2 separate regions of the Homo sapiens genome follow, and region 2 is linked to region 1. Evidence: promoter capture Hi-C in human tissues and cell types (Jung and others, 2019). All regions are on one chromosome and are shown on one strand. Each heading gives the region's core, a stretch centred on a gene start or on the middle of the fragment in contact. The rest is flanking DNA. Distances are from core to core; before and after follow the strand shown.

The links. Contacts are between HindIII fragments. The study calls those that stand out against the background at their distance.
Region 2: a contact is called between a fragment that was not itself captured here and the fragment with the promoter of PSAP in region 1, in 1 of the 25 tissues and cell types used here (dorsolateral prefrontal cortex).

What each region holds. Positions count from the first base shown.
Region 1 is chr10:71,849,926-71,852,767 of GRCh38, forward strand. It overlaps PSAP (prosaposin), which reads right to left and starts at 1,326. Exons shown (of 14, transcript NM_002778.4): 1 at 1,257-1,326. The coding sequence starts at 1,296. RefSeq lists enhancers at 1-84, 476-1,006, 1,007-1,537. The HindIII fragment of the contact is 10,422 bases long and covers 1-2,842 here.
Region 2 is chr10:72,174,841-72,177,540 of GRCh38, forward strand. The region is part of intron 5 of ASCC1 (activating signal cointegrator 1 complex subunit 1); the gene reads right to left. Among named protein-coding and RNA genes, the nearest start is that of ANAPC16, 40 kb to the right of the region's middle. The HindIII fragment of the contact is 4,533 bases long and covers 1-2,700 here.

The sequences.
Region 1 (2,842 bases), core at 76-2,575:
AAATTCCTATCTAAGGGGTGTAGGAATCATACCCTACAAACCATAAACTCTCATCAGATGGGTTTTATTTGACCCCATATATCGTGACTTACTTTCCAATCTGACTCTGGCATAACATTTTATAAGACAAGGAAAAAAAAATCAAAATATCTAACCCCAAAATATATTTCCTTGCCATACCTTGAAATTGCCCTGCAAAGTCTCTTGTGGGAAAAATCCACATTCTATAGAGAATCCCCTTTCCCCTATGTTTTCCTTCCTTCCTCTCCAGATCCAGGAGATAATCAACTAAGAGCCAGTCACCCTTTCATTTCCATAGAAATATTTTACAACGTGCTCGCTCTCTTAGTCGGCTACCTGAGAGCTTCCTCTGCACAATAAAACTTGGTCTCCACAATCCTTTATCTTAACTTGAATACTTTCTTTCTATTGATTCTAGGTTTTCAGATAAACTCAACCAATTATCAACTAGAAAATGTTTAAATTTACCTATGGCCTGGAAGCCCCCCGCCGCTTTGAGTTGTTTCGCCCTTCTGAACCAAACCAACGTATTTCTTAAATGTATTTGATTGATGTCTCGTGCCTCCCGAAAATATGTAAAACCCAGCTGTATCCCAACCACCTTAGGCACATGTTCTCAGGACCTCCTGAGGGCTGTGTCACGGGCCATGGTCACTCATATTTGCCTCAGAATAAATCTCAAAATATTTTTACAGAGTTTGACTCGTTTTGTCAACACCTAGAATCCAGAGTAAATACATATGCAAACGTCAATATAGATGATACACATGTGCTTCCTGCAGCTTCGCTACCCTTACAAACAGGCAACTGAAGCCAACGGCCAAAGTGTCCTGCGGGACGGGGCTCCAGCCCACCTCGATCACGTGCGCCCAGCACAGGCACAACACAGCTGCCCAAGGGGTCACCCTACAAGACTCACCCACCCCCACAGTGGGAAGCGCAGCCTGAGGGAAGGCCTCGGGGCCCCAGCCGCGCAGGAACCCACTCGAGCCCCGAAGGAGATGCTGCCCAGGGCCTGGGCCGTCCTCCCGGGGGCATTTTCGCAGCCCGCCCCCCGCAGCCCCCAGCCGCCCAGAGAAAGCCAGAGAAAGCCAGCGAACGCGCCTGCGCAGTGCGCGCGCCCCCTTGCCAACTAGGGCAGGGGGAGCAGAGGGGCCAGGCCCGGCACAGCCCATTCTGGGGCAGATGGACGCTGCGAGGCACCTCCTCCCCAGGATGAGGGTCCCAGGGCTTACCCGCGCCCAGGAGGCTGGCCAGGAGGAAGAGGGCGTACATAGCGCCGTCTGACTCCGCAGTCTGCAATGCGGAGCGTCAGCTGATCCCCCGCAGATATAAATCTGCCCTGCCCCAAAGCCGTCCAGAGCGCAGGCGCTAACCCCGCCCCATCCGGGCCTGCCCGAGCTCAACAGCGCCCTGACTCAGCGCCTCTGAGGGCGCCTGCGCGAAGGGGAGGCCAATAGGAGGGGGCAATGGGAGGGGCGAAAGGAAGGGCTATGGGGAGGAGTGAGGAAGAACTTGGAGAAAGGGAAGGGAAAGGTCATAAAAGAAAAGCCCTACTAATTGAATAGGTCAGAGATTATATATGTAAAATACCTTTTAAATCTCCACATTGTTGGCCGGCCGCGGTGGCTGACGCCTGTAATCCCAACACTTGGGAGGCCGAGGCGGGCGGAGGGTTCAAGACTAGCCTGGGCAACGTGGTGAAACCCCATCTCTACAAAAAAAAAAATACAAAAAAATTAGCCCATTGTAGTAGCGGGTTTCACATAGAATAGCTTGGGGTTTCACATAGAATAAGTAGTCGTGTAACAGGGTACAGGGCTCAGTCCTGGCCAGGGGCACGTGGGGGCAGGTGGTGGCACCTGGTCAAAGGCAAGTCTGGGCTGGGCATGCTGGCTCACTCCTGTAATCCTAACACTTTGGGAGGCCGAGGCGGGCGGATCATGAGGTCAGGAGTTCAAGACCAGCCTGGCCAATATGGTGAAACCCTGTCTCTACTAAAAATACAAAAATTAGTCAGGCGTGGTGGCGCTCGCCTGTGGTTCCAGCTATTTCAGGAGGCAGAGGCAGGAAAATTGCTTAAACCCGGGAGGTGGAGGTTGCCGTGAGTCAAGATCGCACTACTGCACTGCAGCCTGGACCACAGAGCGAGAGAGATTCCCATCACCAAAAAAAAAAAAACAAAAAACTTTTAAGCCTCACATTGTGGTACCGTTAAAGATGTAATACCATTCCTCACCCATCATAAGAGATCATAAGAGTCACAACCAACACTCCTGTAACGAGACAGCTTAAGAGAAAAGCATAACAAATTTATGTAATCAACGTTTTATGTGACATGGAAGCCTTCAGAAATTAAGACCCAAAGACCCTCTGCCTGTGGCTGCCCCTGCCAGGACCTGAACAGAGAATGATGATGACCCTCTCCAGAAGGATAAGAACCTGCCAACCGCAAGGCAGGGAAAGGAGGGGAATCTTAGCCCCTTAGGGCAGGCACTTAGAGGTCATTTACCTGTAGGGACATTGAGCCTAGGAGAGGGCAAGACGTTTATCCAAGGTCACACAACAGGTAGAGATAGAACCTGGCCCGAAGCCAGGTTTCCTGACCCAGGAAGGGCAAACCTACAGTTCCTCCAACTTCCTCCAATCTGCAATCCGCTCTGGAGAACAACCCCAGGGACTAAGGCCTCAGAACCTTCAGTTCTGCTCCCCTGCAATCTCCCTAAGTGCCCCCAGCCCCCACCACAGCTCTGACTTCCTCTGGGGAGCCAGATGGGGAAGTGTGCCCCATGCACCACAGTGGGCCATGTGAGGCAGCTGA
Region 2 (2,700 bases), core at 156-2,655, 320 kb after region 1:
GCCTGGTTTACCTGTAAGTCAAAGGACCTACAAACTTTTTACATGTTCCCACAAAACCTAAATAATTATCTGCTAACAAAATAGATTATGTGTGAGGGATCTACCAATTCACTTTCTGATATTCTATGCAAAGAAAAAGAGAAAATATGCATGCTTCCCCTATACTCGTTGTATTTTCTTTCTTTTTTTATGGCCAAATCTTGTAGAACTGTTTCTGGGCAGGTGATATGAAGTTCATTCATCTAAAGAAGTTATTCAAATAAGGCAAAGTGATGAAAAGAGCATTTGGCTGTGCAACCAGACAGGCCTATGTTCAAATTCTGCCACCTATCAGCAGCATGACCCTAGGTGAGTTACTCAGTTGCTATGAAGCTTAATTTCATCATCTATAAAACAGACAATACTTCTGTCTCAGGTTTGCTCTGCAGATGAAACACATATGAAGTCTCTGGCACACAGTAGTATGGAATAAATACAAGCTTCCCCCTCTTCCTTTTTACATGACTGTGCAGCACTAGACAAATGCCATCTTTGCTCTCCCTTTTAAAGCAGCACTGGAAGCTAAATTAGGCTCTGCTGAGTCATTTCCATTATTCTTTAAGAATGTTCAGAAAAGCTGACTTTGATTTGCAAGTCACTATGTGTTATTAACGAAATACTGTGTTAAGCTGTATAAGCTTTAGAAAAAAGGGTTTTGTTTCTCCTGGCTTATAAATTCTATTTATTCATACATAATTACAAGAAAGTGGAGAGGTTCTTAAAACGTGGACAAACATTCAAGCATGGGCTTTTATACTGACCAGAGAAAAGAACTTCTCATGCATTGTCTAAAGATCTTTACCCATTAAAGAGGAGTGAAGAGCATCTCCCCTCACTAAAGGATGCACCACCCCACTTACCTTAGATGAGCACAAAGAATCCTTCAGCCTACTCTTCTAAAAACTTCACTATTCCTCCATAGTTACTTGAAAGCACTAGTTAGCAAGGCATCTACTCAACTTACATTTATTCCCAAAGACAGACCCTGGTTCCTCTCACGTTTCTGATGGGTTAACAGCGCAAGAGAGATCTGTTGCTGCTTCTTAATGCCACTCCTTCCTTCCCCTCCATTTTGTAACCCATGGGATTACTACAAGTCTTACTTGGTACAGCAATAATTACAATTATAACAACAATAACATTCATTCGGCACTATGTGCCATGCTCTGCTCCAAACACCTTAAACTTATTAACTCATTTACTCTTCATATCAACACTGTAACATTAATACCATTATTATCCCCACTTCAGAGCAGAACTCTGAAATATCTTTGGAATATATCCCCTCCTGAATATGCCACAAACCCTATTCTTCTTTCAATAGACAGTATCGATAGCCTCCCAACTGGTACCTGCCTTGGTGCCCAACTCCTTACCTCTCAAGACATCCTCCACACTGCCTTCAATTTTTTTTCTGTGGTGCTAAGTTCATCACAGTCCTTGCTTAAAATCTTAACTAGTTTGTTTCTTTCTTTCTTTTGGAGACAGGGTCTCGCTCTGTCACCCAGGCTAGAGTGCAGTGGCACAATCATGGCTACTGTAACCTCTATCTCTGGACTCAAGCAATCCTCCTCCCACATCAGCCTCCCAAGTAGCTGGGACCTCAGGTACACACCACCATGCCTGGCTAATTTTTTTTATTTTTTGTGGACACAGAGTTTCACTATGTTGCCCAGGCTGGTTTCAAACTCCTGGACTCAAGGGATCCTCCCACCTCAGCCTCCCAAAGTGTTAAGATTACAGGTGTGAGCTACCATGCCCAGCCTTAACTATTTTCTTACTCTCTATAGGATATTACATTCAAAATCCTTAACCCACACAAGAGCTTTCACAACTTGGGTGCCATGTCATTTCCACTCTTAACTCCTACCTCTTCCTTACTCTACCTCTTTCTAAGTACCAGCCTTAACAAATTCCTCACTCTCCCCTGAATACCTCACAAGTGACATTTCCTCTGCGCAGAATGCTCCCTGCCCCCATTTGCCAGCCTGGCACAAACTCCTGTCCCTTCCAGACTGTTCAATTGTCAGCTCCCTTATCAAGCCTTCTGCAACCACTACAGAATTTCTCCTCTGGGTACACACTGCACTTATCTAGTAGCACTTATCTCACAACACGGTACCTATTTCTGGAAGAAGTCTATTTCCCACACCCTAGAGTATGGGATCCTTAAGAGTAGAGTCCATTGTTGGCACATAATATGTCCTATATGTTATATATACCTGGTATAAAGTAGACATTTAATAACTAGTGCATGAATCAATAAGACACAAAAACCTGTTCAAAACTAGTATCTCCACCGAAATGGGACAATATATGAATCTTGTAAATATTTCCTTTTCTTACTTTCCTACCCAACTTGGTAGGTTTTACAATCAGAACTTGGGGCTTTTTACAATTTTCCTTACAACCAAAGACAACTATCCCATCTTCATTCTAAATCAGTTCAAAAGATAACTACAAATCCTACAACTACCCTTAAACATGAAAAATCCTAAATTATACACTAAAGCTTTTATATAAACATTTTCTTCTTCAGTGACTAATACTAACTGGAAAAAAAATCCTGCCTGAGGGAGTTAGGGGGATGCAGACCCATTACCCATTCTGCCCAGTGTAAGCCTCCATGTTACAATATGAGCAGAATTATGTAGTTTCTGC